Regions from separate parts of the Homo sapiens genome. Here regions 1, 2 and 4 are each linked to region 3. The links are contacts of gene promoters, found by promoter capture Hi-C in human tissues and cell types (Jung and others, 2019). All regions are on one chromosome and are shown on one strand. The core of a region is centred on a gene start or on the middle of the fragment in contact, and the rest is flanking DNA. Distances in the headings are between cores, read along the strand shown. Region 1 overlaps DYNLRB1 (dynein light chain roadblock-type 1). Region 2 overlaps MMP24-AS1-EDEM2 (MMP24-AS1-EDEM2 readthrough). Region 3 holds the start of NCOA6 (nuclear receptor coactivator 6). Region 4 overlaps MMP24-AS1-EDEM2 (MMP24-AS1-EDEM2 readthrough).

Region 1 (5,380 bases), core at 2,350-4,849, 310 kb before region 3:
GATGGGCGAGGGGTGGGCGGCGGCCCTGCAGCCTAGAGTTTTGGGGCCTTGGTGCGCGATGGCAACCCTGGCAACGTTTCCCGGGAGCTCAGTTTGTGGCAGGCTCTGCCAAGCACTTTATGTATCTTGTATTTCCTCCGCCTCCTCCCAGCTCTGTGAGGTAGATACAATCTTTAGTCCCATTTTGTTATACATATCTGTTATTCAGCGCCCCGAGAAGCCAAGTGCTTTGCCCCAGGAAATAGTGGAGATGGATTTGAACCCTAGAAGCTTGACGGCCGCCACTCTGTCGGCGTGGTTCTTTCTAGCCGCTGGGACTGGGTGCCAGAGTCAGGAACGGGCGGGGTCTGCTCTTGGGGATCCCAAAGCTTGCTTTCTACCTTGCTTGCTGCAGCTGTGGGTTCTCAACGCCGTTACAGGTTTTGTGTTTGTAATCCTCACAGCTTGGGCAAAATTTGAAAAAGTTTCAAATTTTAAGCCATGTGAATATATTACTTTTTCAAAAATCTTATTTAGAAATCTAGAGCTTGTAATAAAAAAATTGAAAAAAGAAACCGTGTCATCACCTAGAGGCAACCACTTACAGTAGTCATATGACTTCTAGTCTTTTTTGCTTGTTTTTGGTTTATACAGTTTAGCCCCTATTGAATGTGCAATTGTGGGTTCTGTGTTTTTCATTATTACACCACAATATCTCCACATCATTACAAACATGTAATAATGCTTCAAATATGTATAACTTCATTTTTCACATCACTTCTTAAGCTGTAAAAAAAATTGATATATAATAGTTGTACACATTTATGTTGTAGATATACATGTAATATTTTGATACATGCATATGATGTGTAATGATCAAATCAGGCTATATTTATTATAGAATATCCATCACCTTAAACATTCATTATTTCTTTTTTTTTTTTTTTTTTTGAGATGGAGTGTGTCTCTGTCGCTCAGGCTGGAGTGCAGTGGCACCATCTTAGTTCACTGCCACCTCCGCCTCCCAGGTTCAAGTGATTCTCCCGCCTCAGCCTCCCGAGTAGCTGGGACTACAGGCGCCCACCACCACGCCCAGCTAATTTTTTGTATTTTTAGTAGAGACGGGGTTTCACCGTGTTAGTCCGCCTCAACACGGTGGTCTCGATCTCCTGACCTCGTGATCTGCTCGCCTCAGCCTCCCAAAGTGCTGGGATTACAGGCGTGAGCCACCACGCCTGGCCCACATTTTCTTTATCCATTTACCTATTGATGGACGCTAATTCCATAATTTAGCTATTATGAATAGTGCTGCAATATGAACATGAGGATGTAGGGATGCCTTTGATGTACTAATTTCCGTTCCTTTGAATAAATACCCAGTAGTGGTATTGCTGATTTATGGTAGGTTTTTTTTTTCGTTTTTGTTGTTGTTTTTGTTTTGTTTTGTTTTTTCGATGCCTTTGTCGAAAATCAGTTGGCCGTAAATAAGTGGATTTATTTCTGGGTCCTCTATTCTATTCCATTGGTCTGTGTTTTATACCAATACCATGCTCTTTTGGTTACTATACCTTTCTGGTATATTTTGAAATCAGGTAGTGTGATACCTCAAGCTTTGTTCTTTTCGTCCAGGCTTCTTTTGGCTTTTCTGAGTCTTTTGTGGTTCCATACGAATTTTAGGATTGTTTACAGGTAATACTTGCACACAGTAAAAAAATAAATGATGTAAAAGGATCTAAGTGAAAAATAAAATTCCCACTCTCCTAACCCCCAGTCTCAGTCTCTCCTCCTTTAGAAACAACCATTGTTAGTTTCTTTTTTTTTTTTTCTTGCAAACTTGACCCTCCTGGGCTCAAGTGATCCTCCTGCCTTAATTCCCCAAGTATCTGGGACTACTGGTGCACGCCACCACACCCTGCTAATTTTTTTGTATTTTTTTTTTGTAGAGTTGGGGTTTTGCCATGTTGCCCAGGCTGGTCTTGAACTCCTGGGCTCAAGTGATTCACCCACGTTGGCCTCCCAAAGTGTTAGGATTACAGGCGTGAGCCACCACACCCAGCTGTTAGTTTCTTATGCATCTATACAAGCACTTATATGGCCCCCCTTTTTCTTACTTAAACTGTAGCTTTCTAGAACCTGTATTATGCTACTCCGTGGTTATACTCATAAAAGCAATGCAAATTTAGATGCCTAGTTTAACTTTTTTTTTTTTTCTTTTGAAACAGAGTCTTGCCCTTTCGCCCAGGCTGGAGTGCAGTGGTGTGATCTGAGCTCACTGCAACCTCTGCCTCCCGGGTTCGAGTGATTCTCCTGCCTCAGCCTCCGGAGTAGCTGGGACTGCAGGAGCATGCCACCATGCCTGGCTAATTTTTCTATTTTTGGTAGAGACAGGGTTTTTTTTCTATTTTTAGTAGAGACAGGGTTTCACCATGTTGACCAGGCTGGTCTCAAACTCATGACCTCAGGTGATCCGCCCACCTCCGCCTCCAAAAATGCTGGGATTATGGGCGTAAACCACCATGTATGTTAACAATTTGAAGCAGTACCAGAGGATATAATATAGAAAGTTTATGTGGTCCCCATCTTACTACCCCGTGGCAACTTCTGTTGGCAGTTGGGTGTGTTTCCTTCCAGATGTGTTTGGTGCATAAGCACATTTATGTATAAGCTGTTTATTAGATGAAACTGGAATATATATATATTTGTATATGTTAACTTTACTTTAAGGCTGAAGTGGAGAGATCGCCTGAGCCCAGGAGGTCAAGGCTACAGTGAGCCGTGACTGCACCACTGCACTCCACCCTGGGTGAGAAAAAAATAAGAGAAAACAGAAGTTGACTTTAAGATATATATGTATATATCTTATTCTGCAACTTGTTCTGTTCACTTAAAAATATCACACATTTTTCTGTGTTATTATATGCAGGTCCACTTCATTCTTTTTAAGGTCTGTATCGTATCCTAGTCCCATATGTACATTTAGGTGGTGTATAGTTTTTTTATTCCAGACACTGCTGCAGTAACTGTTCTTGTCTTTTTTGCACTCATGCTAGTGGTTATGTAGGATAGATTTCTACAAGTGGCACTTTTGGCTTGCATATTTTACATTTTAGGTGGAAACTGACCTTTAGAATAATGATATAAAAATCATCTATAATTGGCCGGACACAATGGCTGACGCATATAATCCCAGCACTTTGGGAGGCCAAGGTGGGCAGATCACTTGAGGTCAGGAGTTGGAGACCAGCCTGGGCAACATGGTGAAACTCTGTCTCTACTAAAAATACGAAAAGTAGCCGGAAGCCGTGCATCTGTAATTCCAGCTGCTCAGGAGGCTGAGGCACTAGAATCGCTTGAACCCGGGAGGCGGGGGTTGCAGTGATCCGAGACCAGGCCAGTGCACTCCAGCCTGGGCAACAGAGCAAGACTCTGTCTCAAAATAAATAAATAAAATTAAAAAATAATCACATATAATTCTCCTCGTCCAGTTTCACTGTGCCACATAACTATTTTCATCTTTGTATGTTCTCCTTCCTCTTTTGTTCACATATGCATATTTTCCAAGATAATGCATGCTGAGTTTTGGGGGGATTTTTTTCTTTTTTTGTTGTTTTAATATCCAAAAACATTTAACCTTGTTGTCATATCATCTTTGTGATTAACTACTTAGTGACTACATAATACTCGGTGAAATAGTTGTACCATAATTGGCCAAATATCTTACCTGTGTACATTTGGGTTGCTCCCATTTCTTTTTGGTTTGTTTGTTTTAGAGATGGAGTCTCACTCTGTTGCCCAGACTGGAGTTCAGTGGCTCAATCTCAGCTCACTGCAACCTCTGCCTCCCAGGTTCAAGTGATTTTCCTGCCTCAGCCTCCTGAGTAGCTGGGATTAACAGGTGTGCATCATGACGCCCAGCTAATTTTTGTATTTTTTAGTAGAAACAGGGTTTCGCCATGTTGGCCAGGCTGGTCTCAAACTCCTGACCTCAGGTGATCCGCCTGCCTCAGCCTCCCAAAGTGCCAGGATTACAGGCATGAGCCACCATACCTGGCTGCTTCCATTTCTTAATTAGTAGAAATAGTGCTGTGATGATGCTTCTGTGAATATCTTGTTTTGTTTCATTTTAACTTACTTATTAGATTATTTCCTCAGGATAAAATTCTTAGGAAAATAATTTCTGAGGTGGAAGGACCAGTGCTTTTATGGTTCTTGCAATATATTGTCCTGTAGCTTTGTCAAGATTGTATTGCCCTTGCACCTGCCAGTTTTGTAATAACAATGCCAGCATTTAAAAATAAACCTCAGCATTGCTATAATTTTTCATTTCTGTCTTTTTTTTTTGAAATGGAATCTCACTCTGTTGCCCAGGCTGGAGGGCACGATCTCAGCTCACTACAAACTCTGCCTCCCAGGTTCAAGCAATTTTCCTGCCTCAGCCTCCTGAGTAGCTGGGATTACAGGCCCATGCCACCATGACGGCTAATTTTTGTATTTTTAGTAGAGACAGGGTTTCCCCATGTTGGCCAGGCTGGTCTCAAACTCCTGACCTCAAGTGATTCACCCACCTCAGTTTCCCAAAGTGCTGAGATTACAGGTGTGAGCACCACGCCCAGCTGAATTTTTCATTTGTTTGTGAGGGATGATGACCATGGTTTGATGTGATTGTAATTTCTCGTAGGCATATTTTCTACTAGTATTCTTTTGTGCACTACCTACTAGAGACTTGCTATTGTTCTTAGTCATTTTGTGTTTTTTTTTTATTTATTTTGTCTGTTATATTTGATGCAAATACTTTTCTATCCTGTTAGATTAGTTATTCTTATACAGAAGTTTTATGTTTAGTGGTCAAATTGGTCATAGTTCTTTGTCAGTCATTTGCTTCCAGTGGTCATCCCTCCTATGCTGAGCCAATGGATCCTCCTGGATCTTTATTGCTGCTTGTTTTTCCATGTGTCAGGAATGTGCATCTGGGAACTAGAGAATTGGGGAACCTTGTCTCCATCATCCCATTGCCCAGAGTGCATTTCTTTCTCATCATTTGATTCTTGGCTTAAAGATGACATACTTATGGCCGAGAATGGTGGCTCACGCCTGTAGTCCCAACAGTTTGGGAGGCCAAGGCAGTAGATCACTTGAGCCCAGGAGTTCAAGACCAGCCTGGGCAACATGTCGAAACCCCATCTCTACAAAAAATTAGCTGGGTTTGGCAGTACACATCAGTAGTCCCACGTGTTCGGGAGGCTGAAGTGGGAGGATCACTTGAGCCTGGGAGGTCAAGGCTGCAGTGAGCCATGATCGAACCATGGCACGCCTGGGTGACAGAGTGAGACCCTATCTCAAAAAAAAAAAAGATTACATCTCCTCAGGTGTTCCTGACCACATTAGCCAGAGTAGCATCCCT
Region 2 (4,928 bases), core at 1,840-4,339, 300 kb after region 3:
TGTGCAAGCCTATGTCTTACATTTAGTTCCAAACCCTAATCTTTACCTGTTGGTAACACCAGATACGATACCTTCTCAGAGCTTCTTATTTTTAAAATTTACTTATTTATTTTTTTGAGATGGAGTTTTGCTCTTTTTTGCCCAGGCTGGAGTGCAATGGCGTGATCTCAGCTCACTGCAACTTCTACCTCCCGGGTTCAAGCGATTCTACTGTCTCAGCCTCCCCAGTAGCTGAGATTACAGGTGCACGCCACCATGCCCAGCTAATTTTGTATTTTTAGTAGAGATGGGGTTTCACCATGTTGGCCAGGCTGGTCTCAAACTCCTGACTTCAGGTGATCCACCTGCCTTGGCCTCCCAAAGTGCTGGGATTACAGGCGTGAGCCACCATGCCCAACCAAGTTTCCTGTTTTAAAAACATGCCATGAGAACAAATGCATGAGAAACATCAATAACAGTGGCCTCTAAGGAGTCAAAAGTTGATGAATTTGCTCTTTATTCCCTCTCCTGGTCCCCTCTACACCTCCTACGATAATCACTTGAGTTAGAAGAGGAAGGAAATGGGGTAGAGGAAGGCAGGATAACCAGAAGGCCTGTCCCATGGCTAAAAGGCAATTCAGGTGGGAAAGTGGGAAGTGTCTAAGACAATGGGCTCATAGCCTGTTTTGGGGTGGGGGATGACTATGTGTGCTGACTAAGCTTCCTTCCTTTGTCCCTCTTTTTCTTTCCCTCCTCACAATTTTCAGCTTCCCTGAAGTGAATCAAATGACATTAGGGCTAGAAAGGAACCTATGAGAGTGTCTCAAATATAGTCCTTTGCTTGATTCTGAGCTGCAAATGGGGAGGTGGAAGAGACTAGGTAATTCCTAAGGTCCGCCCCAAAGTTCTAACATTCCATACACGTAAGCATAATTTATCTGACCCATGGACTTAGGAAGCTTGCCTACACTTCTGAAATCCTGATGGCAGGAGCTCAAAAGGAGTCAACCTTGGCCTTTTCCTTCTCACTCATTTCCTGATTTGAAAGAGCATATGGGGCCAGTCGCAGTGGCTCACATCTGTAATCCCAGCACTTTGGGAGGCCAAGGTGGGCGGATCACCTGAGGCTGGGAGTTCAAGACCAGCCTGACCAACATGGAGAAACTCCATCTCTACTAAAAATACAAAATTAGCTGGGCATGGTGGCTCATGCCTGTAATCCCAGCTACTCGGGAGGCTGAGGCAGGAGAATCGCTTGAACCCAGGAGGCGGAGGTTGCGGTGAGCCGAGATCACACCATTGCACTTCAGTCTGGGCAACAATAGCGAAACTCCATCTCAAAAAAATAAAAATAAAAAAGAGCATGCAATTTAGTTAGGAGCCCTGGGTTCCAGGCCTAGCTCCTGCACTTAAGAGCCAGAGGCGAGCCATTTCATCCCACTAGGCCTCAGTTTCCATATCTGAAAACATGGGGATAATTAACTCCTAGTAAGAAAACCACCCAGAGCCACTGAAAGGAACAGATGGAAAGAAATGAACTTGTGGGCAGTTGTGGAGGATGGAGCCTTGTAGAGGGGATTTGGGGTTTCAGCAACCAGAGCCTGTGGGCAGATGACAAGCCAGAAATGCTGCTCACCTGGCCGAAGTGGGTAGCCCTCTCGCTTCTCCACTGTGTATCCCTGAGGAATGTTGTAGAATTCCGGGAGCCCCCCAAACTGCTTCCATACAGTGTAGTAGTTGAGGAAGGTCCTCATGGCATTGTCAATGTCTCCAATGAGGCTCTGTGGGAGAAAGTGGCTGTCAGGCAGGTAGACACCAGGCATAAAACCCCACAGACAACCTTAAGAAAAGACAAAGTAAAATCTGTGGGGCCAAAAAGGCCTTGAATCAATCCCTGAGTCTGCCAGTTACTCAGTGTGGTGCTGAGCCAGGCACTGGACTTCTCTGAGCCCCATCTATAAAACGTAAAATACACCACCTATCTCATGCATTGTTGGAAGGAACAAAGATTGTATATTAAGTCCCTAAATCTTCAGAGTCAATGTCAGCTAACAGTTTTGGAATTCGGCCAGCCAGTTAAAAATTCTAAGAATAGAGAAAAGTTTGTGCTAAGGCTCACTCCCACACCACACCCCCAAAAGATAACCATTTTTGTTTTTGTTTTTGAGACAGGGTCTCGCTCTGTCACCTAGGCTGGAGTGCAGTGGCACAATCACGGTTCATTACAGCCTTGACCTCCTGGGCTCAAGAGATCCTCTCACCTCAGCCTCCCAGTGCTAATTTTTTTATTTTCTGTAGAGATGGGGGTCTCACTTTGTTGCCCAGGCTGGTCTTAATCTCCTGGGCTCAAGTGATCCTCCTACCTCAGCCTTCCAAAGTGCTGGGATTACAACCATCACCCATCTTGCCTGGCCTCAGATAAACATTACTGGTTTCTTGTATAACCTTTCAGAGTTTCTTTATGCATGAGTATATGTTATTTTCCCCACACTAAAAAATAGCCTTTGGTTCTTTATTAATAGGGATATTAATTATCTCCATATTTTTAGATATGGAAATTTGGCTTTCAGATATTTTTATTTGAATTGGTTCCAACAACTAATGTGGCAATAAATAATTCTGTATATATGTCACATCAAATAGATGTAAAATGTTATGTGTAAGATACATTTTCAGAATTAGGATCACTGGGTCAAAGGATATATGCATTTATAATTTTACCACTATTGCTAAGTAGCCATTACTATTAATGTAATCTCACAGGGAAGCAGCTGACCCTGACATCTTCATTGGATGTCTCATGGACAGAACAAACTTGGCACTTCCTAAACAAAATTCTTGGTTCCCTTACTTTCCCACGAAATTGCCTCCCTACTTTGGCCTTTTTCCCTTCTTGGTAAATGACACAATGTCTACCTGGTTATTCTGGATAGAAACCCGGTGGCCACTTTTTTTTTTTTTTTTTGAGACAGGGTCTCACTCTGTCACCCAGGCTGCAATGGCATGATCATGGCTCACTGCAGCCTTGATCTTCTGGGTTCAAGCAATCCTTCCACTGCAGTCTCCTGAGTAGCTGGGACTACAGGCATGTGCCACCACCCTAGGCTAATTTTTTATTTTTATTTTTATTTATTTATTTTTATTTTTTTGAGACGGAGTCTTGCTCTGTCATCCAGGCTGGAGTGCAGTGGCGCAATCTCAGCTCACTGCAAGCTCCGCCTCCCAGGTTCATGCCATTCTCCTGCCTCAGCCTCCCGAGTAGCTGGGACTACAGGCGCCCACCACCACGCCCAGCTAATTTTTTGTATTTTTAGTAGAGATGGGGTTTCACCGTGTTAGCCAGGATGGTCTCAATCTCCTAACCTTGTGATCCGCCTGCCTCGGCCTGCCAAAGCGCTGGGATTATAGGCCTGAGCCACCGCGCCCGACCTAATTTTTTATTTTTTGTAGAGATGAGGTCTCACTATGTTGCCCAGGTGGGACTACTTTTTCTTAAAACTTTTAAAAACGTAGATTATAAAAACATTTTGGTACATGCACTATTTTGGAACACCAAAGTGGGGTAGATTAGATAAGCTCTAAGATCCTTCCAGCTGCAACTCTACCAGACCATGTAATGGAAAAACAACGAGATGGCACAGCGGCACAAGCTGCTTCCTGCCCTTCCTGAGGCCCACTGTCAAGAATGAGATTGGACAGAAACGCCCAGTGGAGAAACACCTGTTGCCAATGGCCATTCCTGCCCAGACTGGAAATGCACTGTCGACTTTAAGTACTGTAACACTCCATGGCAAACTGGAAGCTCAGTTCCTGACACTCAATTTGGCAGAACTCTAAATCTATCTAATTCACTCTAGGTCTCTCTTCCATCCTCAACCTGTCCCTCCAAAAAAAGTACTCAAGCAATTAACAAAGTACATTATTTGACTTATACATCAGAATGAGCTTGCTTTGCCAGACTCATAGAAAGATGATCACATTCTTTGATCATTCCTACCTGAAGACCAGGCCAGTAGGCCTCCAAGGACTGGAAGACTGGCATGGACACAGTCCCCTTGTACATCTGAACCCACAGGTACCAGTCATCGAAGCGGGTGTAGTTCCGGATGGCTTTGTTATACTCTGCAGTGGGGGAGATGGGATAATGGACATATGAGTGATTAGGGAGAAAAAAGGCAGGCCTGGACAGCGGAAGCGAGAACTTACACTTTGGAAAGAGCACCAGGATGCAATGAGGCAAGGAGGCTAGACAAGAGCATGGATTCTGGAGTCAAACTTCCAGCTCAAATTCCAGCTCCAGCTCTACCACTTGCTAACCGTGACCTGGGGTGGGTTTTTCCCTTTTAAGCCTCAGCCTTATGATCTATAAAATGGGGAGGCCAGGCGTGGTGGCTCACATCTATAATCCCAGCACTTTGGGAGGCCGAGGTGGGCGGATCACCTGAGATTGGGAGTTCGAGACCAGCCTGACCAACACGGAGAAACCCTGTCTCTACTAAAAATACAAAATTAGCCAGGTGTGGTGGTGCATGCCTGTAATCTCAGCTACTTGGGAGGCTGAGGAAGGAGAATTGCTTGAACCCAGGAGGCGGAGGTTGCTGTGAGCTGAGATCGCACCATTGCACTCCAGCCTGGGCAACAAGAGTGAAACTCCATCTCAAAAAGAAAAAAGCAGAAAATAATTGATGTGGTTTGGCTGTGTCCCCACCTAAATCTCACCTTGAATTGTAGCTCCCATATTTCTCACGTGTTGTGGAAGGGACCTGGTGGGAGATAATTGAATCATGGGGGCCGTTTCCCCCATACTGTTCTCATGGTAGTGAATAAGTCTCACAAGATCTGATGGTTTTATAAGAGGTTTCCCCTTTCACTTGGCTCTCATTCTCTCTTGCCTGCACCATGTAAGATGTGCCTTTCGCCTTCCGCCACGATTGTGAGGCCTCCCCAGC
Region 3 (5,024 bases), core at 2,179-4,678:
ACTCCCCTTCTCGAAGATCTTGAATGCCTCTCTCAGCTAAGGATTCAGTCCAAACTCCTTAGCAAGGTCCTTCACAACCAGGTTCCTAACATGGTCTTCCTAGTCTCATCTCTGGCCATGCTTTCACACACATTCTATGCTCCAGCCACATTCAGTTATTAATACATTCCCTGAAAACGTGTCTTTACCTGAAAGGCCCTTCTCTCCATTTCACTGGCAAATTCCTGTATCTTTTAGGACACATCTCAAATGTCACCCCTTCGCAACACCTTCCCTGATTCTTTGAGCAGACACACCCATCTCCGTGTCCTTATAGCGTTTAATAACTCTTCTTTGGCATCGACCATCCTGAACTATGATTGTTCACATGTCTACTTCACTCATGGGGCTGCATACCCAAAGTGAAGTGACTCTGCCTTAAAAACTTCTGAAGCTACAGAGCCCAGTATAATGCTTGATATGCAGTAGATGCCTTGAGGCACAGTAAACGTTTGCTGAATGGAAGACATGCCTGGCAGTAGGAGTAGGGTTTCTTAACCTGGGGTTCATAGACAGGAGTCTATAGATAGGACTTCAGTGGGGCTTGTGAACTTGGACAGGGAGAAAAAAATCTCTTTTACTAACTTTTAACTGAAAATTACCATTCTATTCAAATATGAGTGTAGGTAACATACCATTCTAGTATTAGCAGTTCTGTGACTCTGTAACAACAGAAATCTCAAATATCTTTATATCATACTACAATTGTTGCATATAATCTTGAAGTAGCCTTTATGCGCATCATGTCTTTGAAATTATAATTATCGGATCCATCACTAAATCTGATTTCTTAACGTGCTGATAAACAAGTATATGCATATTAGATTTGTATATTTTGGAAACTGTATTTTAATATAATTGGTGTTCCTTATAATTCAATGTACTTTATTTTATACAATTAAAAAATATTATTCTGAAAGGGGTCCATGGCACAGATAAGGTCAGGTCTTCCTGCATTAGAAAAACCCAGAATAGGCTGGGCGCGGTGGCTCACGCCTGTAATCCCAGCACTTTGGGAGGCTCAGGTGGGCAGATCACTTGAGCTCAGGATTTCAAGACCAGCCTGGGCAACATGTTGAAACCCCAACTCTACAAACAGAAAAAAAAGAAAAGAAAAGAAAAGAAAAACCCAGAACAAATGAATTGTGTTGCTGTATATACATATGGTATTGACAGTTTTATTTTATATATGCCCGCATAATATTTTTGTTCGCTAATTCTCTTTGATTATATGGGGCCCTGGACCTATTTTCCATGACTAATTTGCATATTTCCTTCAGAACTCTCCCATAGCCCATGCGAACTTTGAATTCTTCTCTAACATGATCCAACTTCAATTAATAAAATAGAGACTCTGGGTGTCTACAATTTTTCACTTTTCTTTTTTAGGATTTTGTGTTCCTTTGTGGTAAACACCTAGAAGAGAAGGAGCATCTCTCTTTTTTTTTTTTCTTTAGACAGTGTCTTGCTCTGTCGCCCAGGCAGGAATGTCATGGAATGACCATAGCATGGCTCATTGCAGCCTTGACCTCCCAGGCTCAAGCGATCCTCCCACCTCAGCCTCCTGAGTAGCTGGGACTACAAGTACAAGCCACATCAGGTGGCTAATTTTTTTTATTTCTTTTGTAGAGATGGGGTCTGCCAGCTCCTGGGCTCAAGAAATCCTCCCACCTTGGCCTCCCAAAGTGTTGGGATTACAGGCGTGAGCCACTGTGGCTGGCCGGAGCACCTCTTAAAACTCTAGAAAGTTAGAAGGTCTCAAAGATAACTTCTTTGCACAATTAGAGATGAACCAGGAAATACCAAATAACTGGCTGCCTATACTTTTTTGTATTCCCTTCAGCCTTTGTATTGCCACACTCATTACAGGAAGAAAACAAATTTAATAGTTATCTGGTATATACTGTTATGCTTCATTTCTTGTTGTTTTTGTTTGTTTGCTTTTAGTTTCATCACAAGAATGTTATGCTTCATTTCTTAACACCTTTCTCCCAGCTAGCAAATTCCTTTAAGGCAATGTGTTTAGTGAGGAAGCAGCCGACAATTTCTAGTACCCCTCTGCCACTAACTTGTAAGATCTTGAAAAGTCAACTTTACCTTTCTATGTTTCAGCTAAAATCACTACCTGATTTGAAATCTTTACTTGATCTCTCAGGCCTTTGTAGTTTTTATACATTCACTCTTCTTCACCATTTTACTGGCTTCAATAACGCCTTTCTGATGACCTCTCCAGGTGACTCTGCTCTTAAGCTGTGGGCTGTCCCCTTCCAGGGAAGACACCTTGGGTCACCGCCCCCAAACAGCCAGGTCCCTCCTTTTAAAGACACACACAACTCCCTAAGTTGATAAAGGTTCTCTCCTTCCTTGCCAACCAGTTCCACTCTCTGTGCCTCTTTTGCTGGCCAGCTCCTGCACCCAAACCTCAGTCTCCCTTTGTCCCCCTTTTCTCTCATCAAACACCTCCTTTTTCCTGTTGCTTCCCCCAAGAGGGGGTGGAGGATGCTTGGGACATAAGTCTTCAGAGCCTTGGGAGTTATACAGCTTTGCAATTCAGCCCCAGTACCCCAAGGACTGCCCCAATCTGAACCAGCGTCTGTACCCAAAGGGCCCTCATTCCTCATCAATCACCTCCTTCCCTCCCAGCAAAGAACTGCTCCAGCCCTGACAGCCTGAGCTTGGCCCCCATGCCTCCACCCCAATCCCCAGGTCCTACCTGCATTAGGGCTCTAACACCGCCTAAGGCCTAACCCAGTTCCACGTCCTGCCATCCTCTCAGCCCATAGACCCCAATCCCGGTTCCCTTCGGACCCAGTGTTCCTTCTCCGCGACCCTGACCACGACCCCACGACCGGCTCCCGCCTGTTCCCCAGGCCTGGAGCGCCACCCCGTGCAGACCCCGGCCAGCCCTGCACTCCCTCAGTGCACCGGCCCCCGCGCCCAGCACCCTCCCCACCCAGCCCGGCCGCCGCTCCCTCCAGCGCCCCCGCCCGCAGGCCTGGGGCCCGCTCCCCAACATGGCGACGGGGACACAAGCGCGGCGGGCGGGGCGGCTCCGGGCCGGGCCCGCTCTCAGACCGTGCCACTCGGTCGCCCGGCGCCATTTTTCCGCGCGGGCCCGGGCGGCGCCTCCTCCCCGCGAAGCCAGCCCGACAAGGACCGCGGACGCCCGGCGGGCCCACCCCTTACGGGCCCGCGCCGCCGTCCCCTCACCTGAGCGCGGCCCCGGCCCTCCCGGGCGGGCCTTGGAGCGCCGGCCCGGGCCGTGCGTGCCCGCCGCCCTCGGTGCGTCCGTCCGTCAGTCCTCGCGTGCGCCCGTCTGTCCCGCCGCCCGCGCCCGGCCGCCCGCAGCCCGACCCGGCAGGGCCTCACGGAGCCGGCGGGGAGGGGGATGGGCCGGACCGGGCCGGGGAGGGAGGGGGAGGGAGGGAGAGAGGGAGGGAGCGCGAGAGGGGGCGGGGCGGACTCGAGGGGCGGGGCATTGCCCACGTGACCAGACGTCCCCGGGAGCGCGAGGTGGAGCGCGCGCCAGCTCCCTTCGGTGCTGAGTGCTTAGTGCTGGGATCTCGTGGGTCTCTGTCGGCTTTCCAGGGCTATTCTCTCGCCAGTGAGTCCCACTTCGGAAGCACACATTGCACAGTCTTTTGCGAGCGCTCTGAGTATCCTTGGACATGGCAACTCCAAGCCTCAGTTTACCCATCTGAAATATGGGGAAAATCATAGTGCTTGTGAAGAGCAAATGGAGGTGGGCTTGGAAAGCACTTGTCACCGTGCCTGACACATACTGTCTAATAATAAGCTTAATGGGATATAGATAAAAGCTTTCATTATTATTTGCCTCTAAATCCCTCTCTTCTTTTTCCCATCATTACCTCCCTAGCAAGCTAAAATGCTCAGTAAATAGAATTATTGATCGAACGAGTGTGGCCCCTCCCCTCTTCCCAAACGTAGAAAGGCCTCCTCAGCACTGGACTTCATGTCTGTCATACAGGCCTGGATTCATATCTGGCTTTCACTCTTTTTTAAAAATTTTCTGTTTTTTCCCACACTACACTGATGTATTTTTTAAATTTTCGTAAGTACGTAGTAGGTGAATATATTTATGGGGTACATGAGATTTTGATACAGGCATGCGATGTGTAATCACATCATGGTAAATGGGGTATCTAGCAACTCAAGCATTTATCCTTTGTGTTACAAATAACCCAATTATACTCTAGTTATTTTAAAATGTACAAGTAAATTTTGTGTGTGTGTGGTTTTTTTTTTGTTTTTTGTTTTATTTTTGTTTTTTTGAGACGGAGTCTCACTCCGTCGCCCAGGCTGGAGTGCAGTGGCGCGATCTCAGCTCACTGCAACTTCCGCCTCCCTGGTTCAAGGGATTCGCCTGCCTCAGCCTCCTGAGTAGCTGGTACTACAGGCGCATGCCACCACGCCCAGCTAATTTTTGTATATTTTTTAAGTAGAGATGGGGTTTCACCATATTGGCCGGGCTGGTCAGGAACTCCTGACCTCATGATCCGCCCGCCTCTGCCCCTCAAAGTGCTGGGATTATAGGCGTGAGCCACCGCGCCCGGCCAATTGTTTTTTACTGTAGTCACCTTCTTGTGCTAGCAAATACTAGGTCTTATTCTTTCTAACTATTCTTTTGTACCCGTTAATCATTCCCACTTCCCACCTACCTCCCCATTAATCTTACCAGCCTCTGGTAACCCTCCTTCTATTCTCTATCTCCATGAGTTCAATTGTTTTAATTTTTCGCTCCTGGCCCGGCATGGTGGCTCACGCCTGTAATCCTAGCACTTTGGGAGGCCAAGATGGGCGGATCACCTGAGGTCAGGAGTTCAAGACCAGCCTGGCCAACATGGTGAAACCCTGTCTCTACTAAAATACAAAAGCTAGGTGGGCATGATGGCGGGTGCCTGTAATCCCAGCTACTCAGGAGGCTGAGACGGGAGAATCTCTTGAACCTGGGAGATGGTGGTTGC
Region 4 (5,348 bases), core at 319-2,818, 320 kb after region 3:
TAAAATATATAACTGTAGCATATAGGTCAGGATGTTCTCTAAGTCAGGTTTTGCATTATTCAGGAGGAGAACAAAGATTTTCATTAAATTTAGACTTTGATAAGTTATGTTTGTTAAATTTGCTTGGAAAACTATGTAAAAAGCTAGATATTGTGCATAATTTCCATATTAGTAAGAGGAAAATGGAATGGGGGGAAAACAATCTAAAGAAGGCATGAAAAAGGACAGAATAAAGGAACATAAAGAAGATGGCACAGGGCCAGGTGCAGTGGCTCACACCTATAATCCCAGCACTTTGGGAGGCTGATGGGGGGCGGATCACCTGAGGTCAGGAGTTCGAGACTAGCCTGGCCAACATGGTGAAACCCCATCTCTACTAAAAATACAAAAATTAGCAGGGCACGGTGGCAGGCACCTGCAATCCCAGCTACATAGGAGGCTGAGACAGGAGAATCGCCTGAACCCGGGAGGCAGAGGTTGCAGTAAGCCAAGATTGCACCACTACACTCCCGCCTGGGCGACAGAGTGAGACTCCGCCTCAAAAAAAAAAAAAAAAAAAAAAAAAAGAAGACGGCACAGAGAGCACAATACTGTAGAAATGAGTGCAAATATATCAGTAATTACAGTAAATGTAAATGGATTAAATGTGCCAGTTAAAGATTGTCAGAATGGATAAACAAAATATAATACACTATTTGCAAAAGATGTATCTAATCATAAAACTACAGAAAGATGGAAAGGATAGAAAAAGATACATGGGAAAATGTCAACCAAAAGAAAGCTGGTATCACTTATATTCCTATCAGAAATAAAGGTATAAGAATGACCTTCATTTACAGATGACAAACTGGGCTCAGAAGCTGGGAGACATAGCAGCAAGTACAGCCTCAAACTCAGGCCGGATTCCTAAACCAGGATTTTAGACCATGTTGTCCCTCTGCTCTCTTCTCTTTTTTAATCTTTTATGGATCATATGTCTGGAATATAAGTTTCATTGCAGAAAACATACAAAATAATGGGGAAAAATAGAACTCTGCCATCCAGAGGTGACAGCTGTTAAGTGGTCTAGAGGTTCGATGCAAATAAGGGCTGTGCTGGCTTCACAAGAATCACTGGAAGTCTGCTAAAAATACTGATTCTAGGACCCAACACAGAGATTCCAATTCATTAGGTTTAGGGTGGAGTCTCAACATCTGAATTTTTTAACCACTTGGGAGTGGTTCCTATGGGCTGCCAAGTTTGGAAGATTAATGCTGTAGATTTGCACTGTCCAATACAATAATCACTAACTACATGTGACTACTTAAATTTAATATCATTAAAATTAAATGAAATTAAAAATTCAATTCCATAGTTGTAGTAGATACATTTCAAATGCTCAATAGCTCATGTGGTTCGTGGCTACCATACTGGACAAAACACAGCTATAAGACATTTCCATCACTGCAGAAAATTGGATTGGACAGACAATAAGTTCCAAGAAGGCAAGGATCATATCTTTCTTGTTCATAGCTGTATGCCTAGTATCAAATACATATTAAAGAGGTGAGTAATCTGGTGTATTTCTTTCCAGTCTCTTAGTCTCCTGCTCACTTTCATATCTGAAACTGATGGGGAAATCCTGAGACTTCCCCACCTCACCCTCCAGGAGGGAAGAAGAGCTCTGTCGGTCAGAGGTTTTGGCCAAGGGTCCTGGCATGGTCAGTCCTTAAAATCCTATTTACCACTTCTTGGTTTACAGAGGCAACTTCACACTCTTTTTTCTTTTAAAGGTCCTAGAGAGCAGCCCTTACCTCGAATGTTTGTTTCAAACACAGAGGCGTTCACATCAATATCAAAGTCCACGCTGTCCTGGAGCACTTCAACCACTCTTTGGAATTCTGAGACATTCCCCAAAATCTGGAAATAAAAAAGAGACCTGACAATGAGGCTCTTACATGCATGGAGGCAGATTCAGAGTCTGGGATCCTATGTTGATGTGGCCCTCACTAATTCCACTTAAGACCTCCAGTTTCTGTCCTAGGATTGGTGACAGCAGAAGAAAACACTGAGAGCTAGAAATCATCTAGAGACTTCATACCAAGAGACTGGTTAAGTAAATTCCTAGGTCCCAATTAAGAGTCACGATGTTGTCATTTAAATGGACACAATATAAAGAACGCAAACTACGCATAGAAGTCTTAGGTTTTTTGTTTCGTTTTTTTGAGACAGAGTCTCGCTCTGCTGCCCAGGGTAGAGTGCAGTGGCGTGATCTTGGCTCACTTCAAACTCCGCCTCCTGGGTTCAAGCGATTCTCCTGCCTCAGCCCCGAGTAGCTGGGATTATGCACCACCATGCCCGGCTAATTTTTGTATTTTTAGTAGAGACGGGGTTTCACCATGTTGATCAGGCTGGTCTCAAACTCCTGACCTCATGATCCACCCGCCTTGGCCTCCCAAAGTGCTGGGATTACAGGTGTGAGCGACCGCACCTGGCCAAAAGTCTTAGTTTGACATTTGCAGTAGATACCAGTTGTCACCTTCAACCTTGTGGAAAACAGAACAGGTTGGTTGGCCCAAAACAAATTCATTCCTACCCTCTTTACCTCATGGCCTCCCACCAGAGGTTGGAAATCCAGAAGCTTTCTCGGCCTCCTTTGCTGCTGCAGTTGATTGTGTTACCCAGTCAATTCTGACCCTTGAGAGGTCTACTGGGGGCACTTCTGGGAAGGCTTCTGTTTTCTTAATACCAAGGGACAAACACAGCTAACATGGCTTTTAGTCTCTCTCTTTCTGCCTTGAACTCAGACTCGATTTCTGAAGTGATGGCAGCTATGTGAGACCATGACGTACTAAGCATTAGAATAAAAGCCAAAACACTAACGATACTAGAATGCAAAGCTACAAAGAGGCTGGTCTCTAATGACACAGTTGCGTAGCTGACCCAATGCTAGAAATTACCTCTAGACTTTCTTTTACTTGAGAAAATAAACCCTCTTTATTTAAACCGTTAGCCAAATGCAATCTCAATCTCTCTTCTTTTGATAGTAACATCTCAATTTACCCTCGAGGAATCACTCTTCCCCGGCAGTCACTCCTGTGGTTTGGGAGAGGCTGATCCCATCCCTCTAGCTGTGGAGTGGGTACTTGACCTGAACCAGTCCAAGTCTTTTTTTTGAGACAGGGTCTTGCTCTGTTACACAGGTTGGAGTGCAGTGGTGTGATCATAGCTCATCACAGCCTCGAACTCTGGGACTTGAGCAATGTTGGCCTCCCAAAGTGCTGGGATTACAGGCATGAGCCACCACACCTGGCCCTTTTTACCTTTCTAAGCATCAGGTTTCTTTTATATCTTTTTTTTGTTTGTGTGAGACAGGGTTTTACTCTGTTACCCAGACCAGAGTGCAGTGGTGCGATCTCGGCTCACTGCAACCTCTGCCTCCCTGACTCAAACAATCCTCCTACCTCACCCTCCTCCCTAACAAATGGAGCCACAGACATGTGCCATCATGCCTAATTTTTTATATTTTTGGTAGAGACGGGGTTTCACCATATTGCCCAGGCTGGTCTTGAACTCCTGTGCTCAAGCAGTCCTGCCGCCTTGGCCTCCCAAAGTGCTGGGATTACAGGCGTGAGCCACTGTGCCCATCCCTAAGCATCAGGTTTCTTAACGATAAGAAGGAGTAAAGGTACTAACCTCAAGAAGTTGTTAGAAGAATTAATACATGTCTGTACTAAGCCCTACAGAAACATACTAACTAGTCACTGATATTATTTCTTTATAATTTTTTTTGAGATGAAGTTTCACTCTTGTCACCCAGGCTGGAGTGCAATGGTGCAATCTCGGCTCACTGCAACCTCCGCCTCCCGGGTTCAGGCAATTCTCCTGCCTCAGCCTCTCCAGTAGCTGGGATAACAGACATGTGCCACTATGCTGGGCTAATTTTTTGTATTTTAATAGAGATGGAGTTTCACCATATTGGCCAGGCTGGTCTCAAACCCCTGACCTCAGGTGATCTGCCTGCCTCGGCCTTCCAAAGTGCTGGGATTACAGGTGTGAGCCACCATGCTCAGCCTGATACCCTTTTATTATCATTGAACATGGCCACTAGAATGTAAGCCTCTGAAAACAGGAGATGTCAAAGTCTCTGTATCCCCCATAGAGCTATGCAAGCCTATCACAATTCTCCGTACATAACAGGTCCTCTATAAATGTTTGCTAAATAAATGAATCTGCATAAGTTGTAGTTCGTTTTTCCCCTATCTAGCTAGGCAACCACAGCCGGACGCTTCAGAATCATGAGATGCAAATAAAAGGCCTAGGAGAGGAATTCATTTTTCACCCACAGTCACGCTGCCAAAAGAGGAAGGATGTTGGTTATGTAACAGTGGAAAGGAAAAGAAACAGACGAGATACTTACCAGCAAGGTGTCCAGTGCATCAATTAGAGTCAGAGAAAAACTGCAAAAGGACAGAAATCCCAGCCGCTTAGTAAGAAAATCAAATACCAGATATTATGGCTGCCCTAGATCTGATCCCCCTAAAACTAAATGAGGCAAAGTAATGCCTCTGCCTGTCCCACTTACAGTCACAACAGAGAAACCACAGTGAAAATCGCAGGTATTCTCTGACCCACTTAATGCACCTGGGAGGGTTGGCTGATGTAGCTCAATTGTAATTAAATACATCACCTATAGTCTGGCATTCTCCTCTACCATTGGGAGGCAGTATAAGATTGCAGCTTAAAGCACAGGCCTTTCACCAATTTTCACCTCTAGGAATTTAATTCACAGTGAACAGCTGTTTGAGAGTGTTCATGGCAGTATTGCTTAGAACAGCAAGAGGCTGGAAAGAACCCAACTGTCCACCCATTAATGGGTGATTAAACTGTGTTATAAACAGTGCAAAACTATGAGTTATCAAAAAGATTGTTATCAAGACTTCTATGTGCTGATGGAAAGACATTCGAATTGTTTTTAATGAAAAAGTCAGGGTGGTTTAGTATGTTTCCATCTGTTTCAAAAAGACATGCTGACAGAAAGCAGACAGCAATTGTTAGGGTCAGTGGTGGTGCAGGGATGAACTATAAAGGGCCACAAGGGAACTTTTTAAAGTGACAGAAGTGTTTCATATCTTGACTGTGATGGTGGTCACTTCAAACGAGTGTAGGCTGGGCACAGTGGCTCATGCCTGTAATCCGCCAGCACTTTGGGAGGCCTAGGTGGGTGGATCACCTGAGGTCAGGAGTTCAAGACCAGCCTGGCCAAATGACAAAACCCCGTCTCCACAAAAAAATTAGCCGGGTGTGGTGGTGGGCTCCTGTAATCCCAACTACTTGGGAGGCTGAGGCAGGAGAATCGCTTGAAGCCA

The links. Contacts are between HindIII fragments. The study calls those that stand out against the background at their distance.
Region 1: a contact is called between a fragment that was not itself captured here and the fragment with the promoter of NCOA6 in region 3, in 3 of the 25 tissues and cell types used here (IMR-90 fibroblasts, lymphoblastoid cells and spleen).
Region 2: a fragment that was not itself captured here is called in contact with the fragment with the promoter of NCOA6 in region 3 in 2 of the 25 tissues and cell types used here (lymphoblastoid cells and mesenchymal stem cells).
Region 4: a contact is called between a fragment that was not itself captured here and the fragment with the promoter of NCOA6 in region 3, in 2 of the 25 tissues and cell types used here (hippocampus and spleen).

The regions. Positions count from the first base shown.
Region 1 is chr20:34,516,717-34,522,096 of GRCh38, forward strand. All of the region lies in intron 1 of DYNLRB1 (dynein light chain roadblock-type 1), which reads left to right. Among named protein-coding and RNA genes, the nearest start is that of DYNLRB1, 3.0 kb to the left of the region's middle. RefSeq lists enhancers at 1-391, 58-237. The HindIII fragment of the contact is 5,242 bases long and covers 979-5,380 here.
Region 2 is chr20:35,122,275-35,127,202 of GRCh38, forward strand. It overlaps MMP24-AS1-EDEM2 (MMP24-AS1-EDEM2 readthrough), which reads right to left. Exons shown (of 15, transcript NM_001355008.2): 12 at 3,977-4,101; 13 at 1,616-1,760. It overlaps EDEM2 (ER degradation enhancing alpha-mannosidase like protein 2), which reads right to left. Exons shown (of 11, transcript NM_018217.3): 8 at 3,977-4,101; 9 at 1,616-1,760. Among named protein-coding and RNA genes, the nearest start is that of EDEM2, 23 kb to the right of the region's middle. The HindIII fragment of the contact is 6,297 bases long and covers 1-4,928 here.
Region 3 is chr20:34,822,223-34,827,246 of GRCh38, forward strand. NCOA6 (nuclear receptor coactivator 6) reads right to left here and starts at 3,429. Exons shown (of 15, transcript NM_014071.5): 1 at 3,250-3,429. RefSeq lists silencers at 2,896-3,335, 3,346-3,535. The HindIII fragment of the contact is 14,831 bases long and covers 1-5,024 here.
Region 4 is chr20:35,140,580-35,145,927 of GRCh38, forward strand. MMP24-AS1-EDEM2 (MMP24-AS1-EDEM2 readthrough) reads right to left here. Exons shown (of 15, transcript NM_001355008.2): 7 at 4,400-4,439; 8 at 1,794-1,899. It overlaps EDEM2 (ER degradation enhancing alpha-mannosidase like protein 2), which reads right to left. Exons shown (of 11, transcript NM_018217.3): 3 at 4,400-4,439; 4 at 1,794-1,899. Among named protein-coding and RNA genes, the nearest start is that of EDEM2, 4.1 kb to the right of the region's middle. The HindIII fragment of the contact is 7,283 bases long and covers 1-5,210 here.